Linked DNA regions of Homo sapiens: region 1 is linked to region 2. The links are contacts of gene promoters, found by promoter capture Hi-C in blood cells and fetal thymus (Javierre and others, 2016). All regions are on one chromosome and are shown on one strand. The core of a region is centred on a gene start or on the middle of the fragment in contact, and the rest is flanking DNA. Distances in the headings are between cores, read along the strand shown. Region 1 has its middle 4.5 kb from the start of UBXN2B. Region 2 holds the start of TMEM68 (transmembrane protein 68).

Region 1 (6,571 bases), core at 3,819-6,318, 2.6 Mb before region 2:
CTAGGCACTTTTATGCCCAAGGGATGCAAAGGTAAAAAGAAATAGTCCCAGTCATTATGAAACTCAGTCTAGTAGGGAAAAGAGACATGTAAACGGGTAAGATGCAGCTTGCAGTAGAGCTTTGCTTGGGAGGGTTACAAAGGAAATGTGAGCCATGTGAGGGGAAATACTCCGTTGGTATCTGCTGTGTGCACCATGCTAGGTGCTGGAGTCGACAGCTTGCCGCCCGAGCTTTGGCATACTGATCGTTTTGATGTATAAAGGCATTTGAGGCTGGGCGTCGTGGCTGACGCCTGTAATCCCAACTCTTTGGGAGGCCGAGGCAGACGGATCACTTGAGGTCAGGAGTTTCAGACCAGCCTGGCCAACGTGGTGAAATCCTGTCTCTACTAAAAATACAAAAATTAGCTGGGCGTGGTGGCGCGTGCCTGTAGTCCCAGCTACTTGGGAGGCTGAGACAGGTGAATTGCTTGAACCCGGGAAGCAGAGGTTGCAGTGAGCAGAGATGCACCATTGCACTTCAGCCTGGGTGTCACAGAGAGACTCCGTCTTAAAAACAAAAAACAAAAAACAAAAAAAAGCATTTGATAAACAGCAGGTGCAAGAAGAGCACTCTGACCTTTTCTTCCTGAAAGCAGGAAAAGAAACTACCATGTGATAGATGCCCTCCCTATACCAAGAGGAAAGATACTCATCACCAGAGAAGGGGAGTTGAGGCCGAGAAACATCTGTACAGATATTGTTAAACTAACCAGTATCTTCCTAGATACTCTTCCACGATTGCCTCTCTTTGTTCAACCTAGTATATAAGCACTTAGGCCTAGCCACTTCTTCGGGTGTTTATTTTCCTGTGAGGACACCCACTTATACGTAAAGTTTTATTAAATAAAATTTGTATGCTTTTTCCCTGTTAATCTGTTTTGTGTCCGTTTAATTCTTGGACCCAGCTGGAGACTCTGAGAGAGTAAAGGAGAAAATTTTCTCCCCCAGCTGTGCATTCCCTGTGTAATTTCATTTATCCCTCTACCAGGTAGTTATGATTATCTTGTTATACCCGAGGAAACCAGATGATGAAGACTAACTTCACCCTGTAGTAAATGGCAGTGCCAAATACTAAACTGCACTTGTTTTCCTGATACTCTCTTAACATCAGATTCTGCCCTAGAAATCTCGGGCTCTTTAACAAGAAATGCCTCATAGAGCCAAAGACATTTTAGCTGAGTGTTGAAGGAAAGTACTTCCAGTAGAAGTATTAGACCAGAAAGAATCTTGGTAAAGGCAAAGATATTTACAAAGACACTGATATTTAAAATATTATATTCATGTCAGCAAATTGCTATATGGTTGCAACTTAGAAATGACAAAAGATGGTTATGGAATGGTGGGGAGGAGACAGATGTAGAATGGAGGCTTGAGACAGATTCTGAAGGATCTTGCCTTAGGTTGGGGATGGAATCCTCTGAGCCAGTGATTCTCTAACATTCTTGTACATTAGAATCACCTCTTCTCTCTCGTCTCCAGGTACTCAGATTTATTAATAATTGGTATAGAGTGGGAGTCAGGCATCATATTTCTTAAGATGTTCGCAAAGTGGATTTTGCTGCTGGCCATGACAGTATACCTGATGTTGGACTTGTCCTCCCACTCTTAACAACTAAAAACAACAGTTTTAAGGCATTGAGCAACAGGCAGTACAGGTCTGTGATATCTGAAAGAAGGAAAACGAACAAGGTGACTATATTTGCCCAGGCTCTTTATTTTTATTTATTTATTTTTTGAGATAGGGTTTCTCTCTGTTGTCCAGGCTGGAGTACAGTGGTGCAATCACGCCTCACTGCAGCCTCAATCTGTCTAGTTAGAGCAATCCTCCCACCTCAGCCTCCCGAGTAGCTGTTGCCTTGGCTTTCTGCATGGAACTCTCATACACTGCTAGTGGGTCCTAGAATGGTACAGCCACTTTGGAAAAGAGGTTGTCAGTTTCTTCTAATGTTAAATATTCCATTATCATAAGAACCAGCAATTCTACTCTTAAATATTGACCCAAGAGGGATATAAGTATACATTTATAAAGTATTTCAACTCAAATGTTCATAGAAGCTTTATCTGTAATAGCCTGTAAACTGGAAACAATCCAAATGTCCATCAGCCAATGAATGGATACAATTTTGATAAATCATACAATGGAATACTACTCAATAGTAAAAAGGAAGAAGTTATGGATTCACATGTCTTGAATGAATCTCAAAGATATTATCTTGGGTAAAAAAAGCCAGGTGCGAAAGAGTAAATATTGTCTGATTTAATTTATATGAAATTTTAGAACAGGCAACACCTTTAATGACTAAAAGCTGGTGGTAGCTTGGGGCTGTCTTTTGGAGTAAGGATTCAGTTCCCCAATTGTAGGACATGTAGGAACTTTTTGAGGTGACAGAAGTGTTTTATAACTTGATTGTGGTGGTAGTTACACAGGTATGTATTAATACGTTTGTTAAAAGCACACTGTATACACTTAAAATGCATGCATTTTATTATATGTAAATTATTCATTTATAAACTTGATTGAACAAAATCCTTGCTCAGCTGATTCTGTTGTGCAGCTATGTTTGAGAGACACTGCTCTAAGGCAACTGGGAGCCATTAAAGGATTTGTGATTTACAAAGATTACAGATGCATCAATGTGTATGATGAGTCAAAGTTAGGAAATAGATTATTACAACAATGGGAAGTAATTAGGACTCAATTTTTATCAGTGGCAGTGAGAACAGAAAGAAGCAATACTTGGTAGAAATATTAACGTCAGAACCGACAGGAGCTGGAGTCTTCAATGTGGAATACATGAAAAAAAGAGGAATAAAAAATGACATCTGGGGATTTGGCTAGGTGATTTGGCAAATGGTGCTACCCGTAAATTATTGAGTTGAAAGGGGGAAACAAATTTCAAAGGAAATAAACAAGTTTGTTATGGACATTTTGAGTTCAAAATGTATGTGGAACACTCTGGTGAAAATGCATCATGGAGCAATTGCAAATGTGGGTATAAAGATTAGAAGATTAGGCAAGAATTTTGGTTTGGACATACAGATTTGGGTGTTGACTGCATGTAAATGATAGAGTAGACAAGGCTTCGCAGGAGCAGTGTGAAATGTGAGAAGATTCGAGGATTAAGAACACTCACAAACACCAACATTGAAGAACTCAGTGGAAAAAGGAAAGCTTTCAATGTAGCCCTGAGTAATAGAGAGGTGAGAGGAACACAAGAGACTGGAAAAACTGGTGATGAGGCAGTTTCAACAGGCATACCAATGATGTCATTTACTACAGATAATCAAGAAAGATTAAGACTAAAAAGTATCCACTGGACTAAAGGAACAGGAGATGCTGTCCCAAAAGTTACTACCAATTTCATAGTTAGTGAGGAAAATCCATATTTTACTAGTTTCAGAGTGACAGATAGGATAGTGAAGGCTACATATTCAATGAACTTAATGTCAATGGTGTGCAGAAGTTGCCGTGCACTGGCTTATGAGAGCCTACTGTTAAATTTTTAGGAATTTTGCAAGGCAGTTGTTAAACAGGGATTATTAAAAATTAAATGATATAAATGTACAACTAAATTATACAAAAAACTCATGCAATAAATATTCAAATCTCTAATTTCCTAGTTATTTGAATACATTTTGCTATTATCTATGCTCCTGAGGGGATTTACATCTATTGGATCTATATGGTGGAGATGCTATTGCACACCTCTTCCCAATTCGCATTCAGTGACAACATGTTAGTAGCTTGAAATCTACCATGGTGTAAGTATTCCCACCTCAGAAATTGGTAAACGCCATAAATAAAAGTTCGATTTCTTGTTTTGTTGATTGCCCACTGGAGATTTAAGGATCTGTTGGAGAAAATGTTTACGAGGCAGATAAGACTTAAAAGTATGCTGTGCCTGCAGCTGTTATGCTGTGAATAGCAAAAGAAAAAAAATGTAAATTTTCCTCTAGTATTTGAAAATTACTAGCTGATTCCGGAAGAAGTTGCTCACGTTGTTGAGTTACTATGGGTGTTTGTGTTTCACTTGCATCTTATGTGTATCTTGTTAATGTGAACAAAAATATCAACAAACATTCAAGTGGTCGCCTTGAAGTCTCCTTTCTTTTGGCTTGTGATGAAAGTGATATCTTTCCCCATTCTTCTTCAAAGAACTACGACCACATACCTCACTCTCCTTGATTCTCTATTTTCTGTTCTCAAAGTGGGTGAGGAGGTTCAAGAATCATGACATTCATCGTCTTTGAAACATTCTCCAGGAGCATCTTTCTCACACCCATTTTGACCTATCATATATATTATGGGGTCCTTAAACTGGAAACTTAATGTTAAACATTTTATTATACTTATTTTCTCCTTCCATTAGACTAAGCTCATGGAGTATGTGGGCCAGGACTTCATCTCTAGTGCCTTAACACAGAACCTGGAACCATAATATGTACTTTTAATAACTATTTGCATGAGTGAGTGAATGAAGGTGGTAGGGATCCTGTATTGGTCTGTTCTTGTGCTGCTATAAAGAAATATCCGAGACTGGATAATTTATAAAGAAAAGGGGCTAAATGGCTCATTGTTCTGCAGGCTATAGAGGTAGCAGAACAGCTTCTGCTTGGCTTCTAGAGGCCTCAGGAAAGTTATAATCATGGCAGAAGGCAAAGGGGAAGAGAAGCAGGTACATCTTACATGTCTGGAGCAGGAGGAAGTGTGGGGAGGTGCCACACACTTTTAAACAAACAGATCTTGTGAGAACTCTATCACAAGAACAGCACTGGGGGGATAGTGCTAAACCATTAGAAGCAGCCCCTGTTATCCAATCACCTCCCACCAGGGCCCACCTCTAGCACAGGAGATTACATTTCAACCTGAGATTTGGGTGGGGGCACAGATCCAAACCATATCAGATCCATAACTCAAACCACATTTGACTATCTCCAAAGCCCATTTTCCATTCATGGAAAGTCAAGAAATAAGAAGATCTATCAACAGATATCTTCATTAGATACAGACAGGACAGACAGTATAAAATGCAGGCCTATTTATATTGCACTTCTAAACCAAATCCAGCTCCAACTTCACAACCTAAATGAAACTCACGTTTGTGTAATTTTACATATGCTGGACATCACTGAGAACAAGATCAGAGGTCACTGTAATATATAATGGCCTTGTTCCATCCTTTAAAACATTTTTATCTCATTCTAAAAATAGAAATAGAATATTTACAGTTGGTAATTTTCATGGATTGCACATTATTTCATGTAATCTACAACAACTTTCTGGGATAGGTATTGTCTCCATCTTACAGAAGTAGTTGAGGATCAGAGAAATAAGATGAATTTCCTTATGTCACTCAGCTATTAAGTAGCAGAACTAAATTTTAAATTCAGGTCCATTACACTCAAAAGCATATGTTTTTTTTTTTGTTTGTGTTTTTGGTTAAAAAATACCATCTCCGTGTCTCCTGGGAGCTTTTTGCAGCCTCTGACTCTTGTGATTTTACCTTTCCTGAAATTTCCTCATGATACTGCTTAACATTGGTCTTCTTACCTACCTGACCATTCCTTTTGAGCTTCTCCTAACATTTTATCTTCTATCCACCCTCTAAATAATGATGTTCTTTAGGGCTCTGCCTTTGCCACTCTTATTTGCTCACTGTGTATATGCTTTCGCTGTTCAATATCTTCTGTTCTCATACCTACTATTTACACACAGTCAATTCTCATTATTTACAGTAGTTATGTTCCTTAAAGCCATTGAGAACACTGAGTTATTGAATACTGAATCATTGCTGCTAGGGAAAATACAGGGTAGGTTCCTGTGAACTTCTTACATTTTCATCAACTGATCAATGCATAACCTTGTTTTATGTCTATTTCTGTTGAAGACCCCATGTTTAATATGATCATTGATCCACTCACATTGAACTCACAGCCACCAGCACTATAACTCCTGCATGAAGGAAGTTTATCTAGCACATGCATTTTCTCCATAAGGACATCACAGCCTCTTGTACTTAGGAACACCAGACAGTACTTCAGCACTACCCTTGGGGGCCATCTCAAACAGCAAAATCACCAACAAAAAGCACAAACATGTGAAAAACATGGCACTAAATAGAATGTGCAAGGACACTTATTTAAAGTATAAAAGCTGAAATAAAAAGGCAGAATGTCACCTTGTTTGAGCTCAGCTGGGAATGTGCTCATGGGGCAACAGAAATATTTTGCTCCTTTGTGTCTGGGTTTGATCACAAAGCACTGCATGTATTTGGTTTGGGGGTCACAAATACATTTTGTGAGTAGGTGAATATGCAAATATGGAATCTGCGAATAACTAGAATGGACTGTATCTAAGACTCCCAAATCTCTTTTTCCAATACCCAGGTCCCTCTCTTACCCCACATCTACATTTCCAATTGTCTTTTCAACTGATATTTTCATTTGGATGTCTCAAAAACATTTGTGTCTCCAACTAATCCTCTGTTTTTGTCGTACAAACCCACTTCTTTTTCATTCTATCATTTAT
Region 2 (6,921 bases), core at 537-3,036:
TCTGGCCCAAGCCTCCAGAGTAGCTGGGACTACAAGCATGTGCCACCACAGCTGGCTAATTTTAAAAAAAAATTTCAGTACAGATGAGGTGTTGTTATGTTGCCCAGGCTAGTCTCCAACTTCCGGGCTCAAGTGATCCTCACTCCTCGGCCTCCTAAAGTGGTGGGATTACAGGTGTGCACCACCGTGCCCTCCCTCCCAGCCATTTTGTTCAGTTTCCCAGGCTTTCTTTTGCTCCCTCAAGGCCTTTACTGAGTTCAGCCTGCAGAGAACGCTTTCTCCCACTGAAACTCACCCCAATTTATCCCCCTTAGACCTCTTTCCAAAAGCTACTTCCTCAAAGAAACCTCTGTGACCCTTGGAAAGTTATTTGTTTTCACAGCATCCTGCACTTCTCTCTCATAGCACTTATAACTATAATCAACCAAGTAATAATGTAACCAGTTATCTTAATATTGATCTTCTCTGCTAGGAAGTAAACTCAATACATGTAAGGACAGAATGTCTTGTACCTCAGTGCCTACCAGCATACTTGATATACAAGAGCACAAAAAACATTTTCTGAATGATTGTATGACTACATGCATGCCTGACTAAAAAGGCGACAATACTTTTTACATTAAATTTAACAAGTTTAACTTCTTTTTGCGTTTTCAAATTACTCCACAAAATTACACGAGAAAAATGAATTCCTTCAAACTTAAATCCTACTATATTAAACTATATTAAAAGTCTATCACATAAAATTCACTTCCACAAGGATTTAACTCTAACAAAATAAGCATGTGAGATTAAATATACCCGTTATAGAGATGAAAAAAAGGTTCAAGTGGTTTAACTCACGCATTTAATATAAAGGAAACAATTCCTAGAATTCAAGTCTCTTGGCGGTATTATTCCTGCATACTAGCTATTTTTCATGTGGGGCAATTTTTACCTGATTCAAAGATTTCCCCAAAATAAAGATATCACAAAAACTGATGTAAATATGGTTAAGTCTTTTATCTCAACTAGTTTGAAGTTTTAATTATGTGCATTTGGGCTTAAGTAGATTTTTAGGTTTAAAAAAAGACGTTAACCAAAGCAAGTCACTCAACTTTAAACTTTCACTTTATGACATCATATCTACTAGAGATTTCATTTTACATGTCGCTTTCCCCCAATTTTTAAATGTCCCCTCGATTTACAAATATGAGATGACATATAGCACCTACGACATTTTTTCATAGCAGCCTACCAAGTAGATGTAGTCCTTCACATAAAAATAATGGCAGTGGGCGACCACTCCGTCATGTCTGAGGGTTTTGTTTTTCTTAAACATCACCGTGCCCAAGGGTCAGATGTTCTGGCTGCTTTCAGGGATCAATTACAACCACGTTTGCAATACCTACATTTCTGGGTAATGACTGTGCTAGAACATGAAGAGATTCTCTTTTCTACTTACTCCACAAATGCCCTGGAGCAAAGGCACAGTATCTTACAATCCTCCCGCTCCTCAATGAAGAGAAACATTTCCGCCACGCGGCTCCACTTCTCGCAGCACATTTTACCACTTCGGAGGCAGCTCTGACGTACGCAGCCCGGGTCGCGCCTGCCGGGCCTCCGCTCGGTTACTGGAGACTTAAAACAGGCCTCGCCCGCAAGCCCTGGATGAGGAGATAGAAACTGGCCCGCGGCCGCTCGCGCCGGGAACTAGCCCGGACGCTGCCGCCGGAAGTGGCTCCGAGGGGCCACGGGAAGGGGCGGGACCACGGGCGGTGTCACCCCCATCGCGGCCCGGGCTGCAGCCGCCGCTTGGCTTCTTTCACACGGGTTGCTTCGGAGGAATCCGCCGTGCAAATCTGTCCGCCCCCTTGGCCACTGATCCCCCGAAGAGCTTCTGTCGCCGCTCTAGGGTAAAGGAGAGCTGCCCCTGCCCCTGCCCCCGCCTATCCGAGGTGCGTCGGCCCCCGCGCTTCTCCAGCCCGGCATCGGGTCTGGCGGGACTGGGAGCGGCGGAGGCCGCGCGCGTCCGGTCTCCCAGGAGCCGCCTCGGAATCCCCAGTCTCTTCGCGGGCAGGCTCGGCTTCCCGCCGGCCTCAGTGTTGCGCCCCAGCGCCAGAGTGGCCGGGTGTGGAGATCCTCCCTCCTCTGGGTCAAAGAGCCTGCTCTCCCCGCCCCTCTTCTCCCCTGGCGCTCTAAACCTTCGGTTCGGCGCGTTTCATCCTAATGCATCTGGTGGGGCGAGGCGTCTCTAGCCTCTGTAGAGGCCTCTAGGCTTGCCCAGTGGCTTCGCTGGTTCCGGGACCCAGGTCGAGCCTCCGGTGTAAAAGCCAAGGGGAAGTGTGTGGTGATCCCGAGAGTGTAGGGGGAAAGCCGCGTGGGTAGAGCGTTCGTATCCAGACCGATCAGGCTTGGAATCCTGGTCCTACCTTGTGACCTGGGCAGGCAACTTCACCTTTCTGAGCTTACCTTTGATCACCTGTGAAATGGGGTTGATTAATAGTAACTACTACATGAGGCTGCAGGGAGGACTAAACGAAATGATGTATATTACACCTTTCCTTTGTGCGCTTAATCGTTGGCGTCGGTTTGGACCTTGTAGGCGTTAAGTGCTGTCTCGGTCCCTGGGGTTTGCAGCCTGTAAAACAGGTCTCTGCCTTCAAGTTACTAATTATCTAATAAGAAAAAAGTTCATGTGGGCATAAATAGGATGGAGAAAATGGAAACAGCAGCGTTGCTGGATCTGTTAAAAAGCAGTTAGTATTTGGTGTGTGGTATTCATGGAGGCTGCACGGGCAACTTCTTCAGAGACAAGCTCAGACTTGAAAGTTGGAGCGCTTCGGACGTGGTTGGTGCTACGAAATGCCAAAATAGTATTGGTACTTCTTCAGAACTATATAAAAACTGAGCTAAAATTCATGCATTTTGAATGGTATTTTCAATAGTATTTTGGCCACATTTACTAGTTAGTGGAAATATTCATTTTCAAATGTTTATTCCCACCTCCTTACTGCTGCCCTACTTTGAGGTCGGAGATAGGCTGATTTTGTTGGTTCAAGAAGGTAAGAGTGCTGCACGGTTACAGATATACCAGTATAGATGTGCAGCATTATTGGGATGAGTAGCTGGGTTACGATAATAAGGGTAGAACAGTAATTATGAAACAGAGTGGAAGATTTTAGCTAGAAGTTGGGCATTCTAGGATTAAAGAAAAGTCTTGAAGGGTAATTTGTATCAGAACCTCGAGTTTAAAGCTTGAAATAAAAAAAGTATTAAAGCTAAAAGGATTAGATTTACCAGCTATCTTGACAAATACTAAATTGCAGCTTTATTCATGGTTTGAAGTAGAAGTCCTATTCAGTAAAACAGTGCTGTATCTCTGTTAAACCATTATTAAATATGCAGAAAGGAAACAGGAAAACTTGTTTTTCAGTGACTATATCTTTTAATTGGCATTTTCAGAATGTTCTCAATGTGACTTATATACTAAAAGTAAAATGGAAAAGTACTGGTAATGGGTGTTCAAAATAGATATACTTTATTTATTTATTTATTTATTTTTTTTGAGACAGGATCTTGCTCTGTCACCCAGGCTGTAGTGTAGTGGCGCGATCGCGGCTCACAGCAACCTCTACCTCCCAGGCTCAAGCAATCCTCCTACCTCAGCCCCCCGAGTAGCTGGGGCTACAGGCATGCCACCATGCCTGCCTAATTTTGTGTGTGTGTGTGTGTGTGTGTGTTTTGTAGAGACAAGGTTTTGCCATATTGCCCAGACTGGTCTTGAATTCTTGGGTTCAAGTGATTTGCCTGCCTCAGCCTCCCAAAGTGTTAGGATTATAGGCATGAGCCACTGAGCCCAGCCTAAAATAGATACACTTTCTTAAGGTTTTATTGAAAGCCAAAAAGTTCTCTGTTCTGATTTATTAGTTTTTGAAATACTCTGATTTTAAACATCTGTAAGGTCCATATCCTCACCATCAATGTCAATATGGTGATATTTGAGCTTGTCAACTTTTTTTTTTTTTTGGAGACGGAGATTCATTTTTGTTGCCTAGGCTGGAGTGCAATGGTGCGATCTTGGCTCACCGCAACTTCCGCCTCCTGGGTTCAAGCGATTTTCTGCCTCAGCCTCCTGAGTAGCTGGGTTTACAGGCATGCGCCACCACACCTGGATAATTTTGTATTTTTTGTAGAAACAGGGTTTCTCCACATTGGTCAGGCTGGTCTCGAACTCCCGACCTCAGGTGATCCTCCTGCCGCTGCTTCGCAAAGTGCTGGGATTACAGGCATGAGCCACCGCGCGTGGCCTTGTCTACTTGTTTTTACAAAAGTTACGTGATTTCCAGATAGGGAAATTAAGATACTTTATATGTGATGCATTAGACTGTGTTTATTTTAGATTTTTAGGAGCAGGGGGCTGTAGAAAATAACCTGGAATTTTGAGAACTAAAATATTGTATTTCCCCCAAAACATCTTCTAGTACATAGAGTTCCCCCCTGCCCCCGAGACAGGGTCTTGCTCAGTTGCCCAGGCTGGAGTATAGTGGTGTGATCATTATAGCTTACTGCAGTCTTCACTCCACGGGCTCAAGCAGTCCTCCTGCCTTGGCCTTCCAAGTAGCTGCAACTTACAGGAACGTGCCACCATGCCTGGCGAACCTTTTTTTGGTAGAGACAAGGTCTCAGTATGTTGCCCCCAGGCTGGTCTCAAACTCCTGAACTCAAGCAGTCCTTCCACCTTGGCCTCGAAAACTGTTGGAATCACAGGCGTGAGCCACCCTGGCCCATGTCATTTTTCTTGGATTAAAATAAAGTGATAAGAAGTCAGTTACACCCCCAGGTAAATTCAGGGGGAAGGGGAAGGGCCAGGCAGAAGTATAGGGAAGACAGAAATTGCAATCTTAATATTTTCTTTCTGTCAAGAGAGAAAAAGAGAGATATATCAAAGAAAGTGTGTTGGAAGCCAGACCAGGAGGTAAGATGACTAGATTTTAATTTTAGTTCTTGGCTTTTACTGAATTAATTTAGTAATTTTAAGCAAGCAAACTTGGCTTTCTGTGTTTACTTTTTTTGTTATCTGCACAATTAAGGGGTTGCATTGAGATTTAAAGACACTTTGTCATATTATCAAAAGTAAGTGCTACATTTTATCTACTGAAAGGCATTTTATTCAAATTCCTCTGATAGTTCTCTAGTAGCAGGTTTTAGGATACTGTTTTGATCCAGATTTCTGTTAAAGATTTAGATGAGGCCAAGCAGGGTGGCTCACGCCTGCAATCCGAGCACTTTGGAAGGTGGAGGCGGGCGGATCACTTGAGGCCAGGAGTTCCAGACAAGCCTGGCCAACATGGCAAAACCCCATCTCTACTAAAAATACAAAAATTAGCTGGGTGCAGTGGTGCTTGCCTGTAGTCCCAGCTACACGGGAGGCTGAGGTATGAGAACTGCTTGAGCCTGGGAGGTGGAGGTTGCAGTGAGCTGAAATCGAGCCACTGCAGTCCAGCCTGGGTGACAGAGTGAGACTCTGTCTCAAAAAAAAAAAGTTTTAGACGAACACAGTTCAGTTGTATATTTAGCCAGCATTTGTTAGGTGCCTACTATGTGCCAGAAAGTAAGTGTTTTTCGTATGTTTTCTTAGATAACTATTTTATTTACTGATATATTTAGAATAGTATCTGGCACAAACTTCTCAGGGCCATCCACTTGTACATTGTATCCTGTCCCCTTTGGCCTAGTCAAGGACAGAGCTCTAACAATTATCTCCTCTCCTACATCATCTGTTTCTCACTCCCATTGATGAATTATCGTTGACATTGAACATGGGTGTATTTTCTCCTATCTTTTTTTTTTTTTTTTTTTGAGATGGGATTCTCATTCTGTCCCTGAGGCTGGAGTGCACTGTCAGAATCTCGGCTTATATAACCTCTGCCTCCCGGGTTCAAGCAATTCTAGTGCCTCAGCCTCCCAAGTAGCTGAGACTACAGGTATGCACCATGATGCCTGGCTAATTTTTGTGTTTTTAGTAGAGACGGCATTACCATGTTGGCCAGGCTGGTCTCAAACTCCTGACCTGAAGTGATCCACCCGCCTTGGCCTCCCAAAGTGCTGGGATTACAGGCATGAACCACTGTGCCTGGCCCTTTTTTTTTTTTTTTTTTTTTTTAAAGACAGAGTCTCTTGCTCTTTCACTGAGGCTGGAGTGCAGTGGCTTGATCATTACTCACTGCAGCTTCTACCTCCCAGGCTCAAGTGATCCTCCCCCTTCAGCCTCCCAAGTGGCTGGGATCATTGGTACATGTCACCATGCCCGGCTAATTTTTAATTTTTTTTTCTTTTTGAGCAGAGTCTCACTCTGTTGTCCAGGCTGGAGTGCAGTGGCATGATCTCGGCTCACTGCACTCTCCACCTCCTGGGTTCAAGCCATTCTTGTGCATCAGCCTCCCGAGTAGCTGAGATTACAGGAATGCATCACCACACCTGGCTAATTTTTGCATTTTTAGTAGAGATGGGGTTTCACTGTGTTGCCCAGGCTGGTCTTGAACTCCTGGCCTCAAGTGATCTGCCCCTACTTGGCCTCCCAAAGTGTTGGGATTACAGGTGTGAGCCACCGCACCTGGCCTAAATTTTTTTTTTAGAGATGAGTTTTTACTATATTGCCTGGCTGGTCTTGAACTTCTGGTTTCAAGCGATCCTCTTGCCTCAGTCTCCCAAAGTGCTGAGATTACAGGTGTGAGTTACCATGCCTGGCCTCTGTCTTAAAGCAACAGCTGCAGCAGCAGCAGCAAGGAACAACTCACCTGTGTTCCCTTCTAGATACCCACCTGTTTCTTTCCTCCTTTGTGAGTTTTTATATTTGCTGTTTCCAATTCATTTTCTCCCATTCATTCTTGAACTTCAAGGGTAAAGGGGAGCTGCTTCTGTCCTCTCCTGTCCAAAGTG

The links. The method cuts DNA at HindIII sites, captures the fragments that hold promoters and counts their contacts. A CHiCAGO score of 5 or more calls a contact.
Region 1: a contact is called between a fragment that was not itself captured here and the fragment with the promoter of TMEM68 in region 2, in 1 of 17 cell types (non-activated CD4 T cells). The highest score is 5.7, in non-activated CD4 T cells.

What each region holds. Positions count from the first base shown.
Region 1 is chr8:58,403,560-58,410,130 of GRCh38, reverse strand. No RefSeq gene overlaps it. Among named protein-coding and RNA genes, the nearest start is that of UBXN2B, 4.5 kb to the left of the region's middle. The HindIII fragment of the contact is 3,704 bases long and covers 3,217-6,571 here.
Region 2 is chr8:55,768,243-55,775,163 of GRCh38, reverse strand. It overlaps TMEM68 (transmembrane protein 68), which reads left to right and starts at 1,786. Exons shown (of 8, transcript NM_001286657.2): 1 at 1,786-1,895. It overlaps TGS1 (trimethylguanosine synthase 1), which reads right to left and starts at 1,718. Exons shown (of 13, transcript NM_024831.8): 1 at 1,445-1,718. The coding sequence starts at 1,545. RefSeq lists enhancers at 1,280-1,609, 2,381-2,884 and silencers at 1,750-1,939, 2,030-2,159. The HindIII fragment of the contact is 10,724 bases long and covers 1-3,238 here.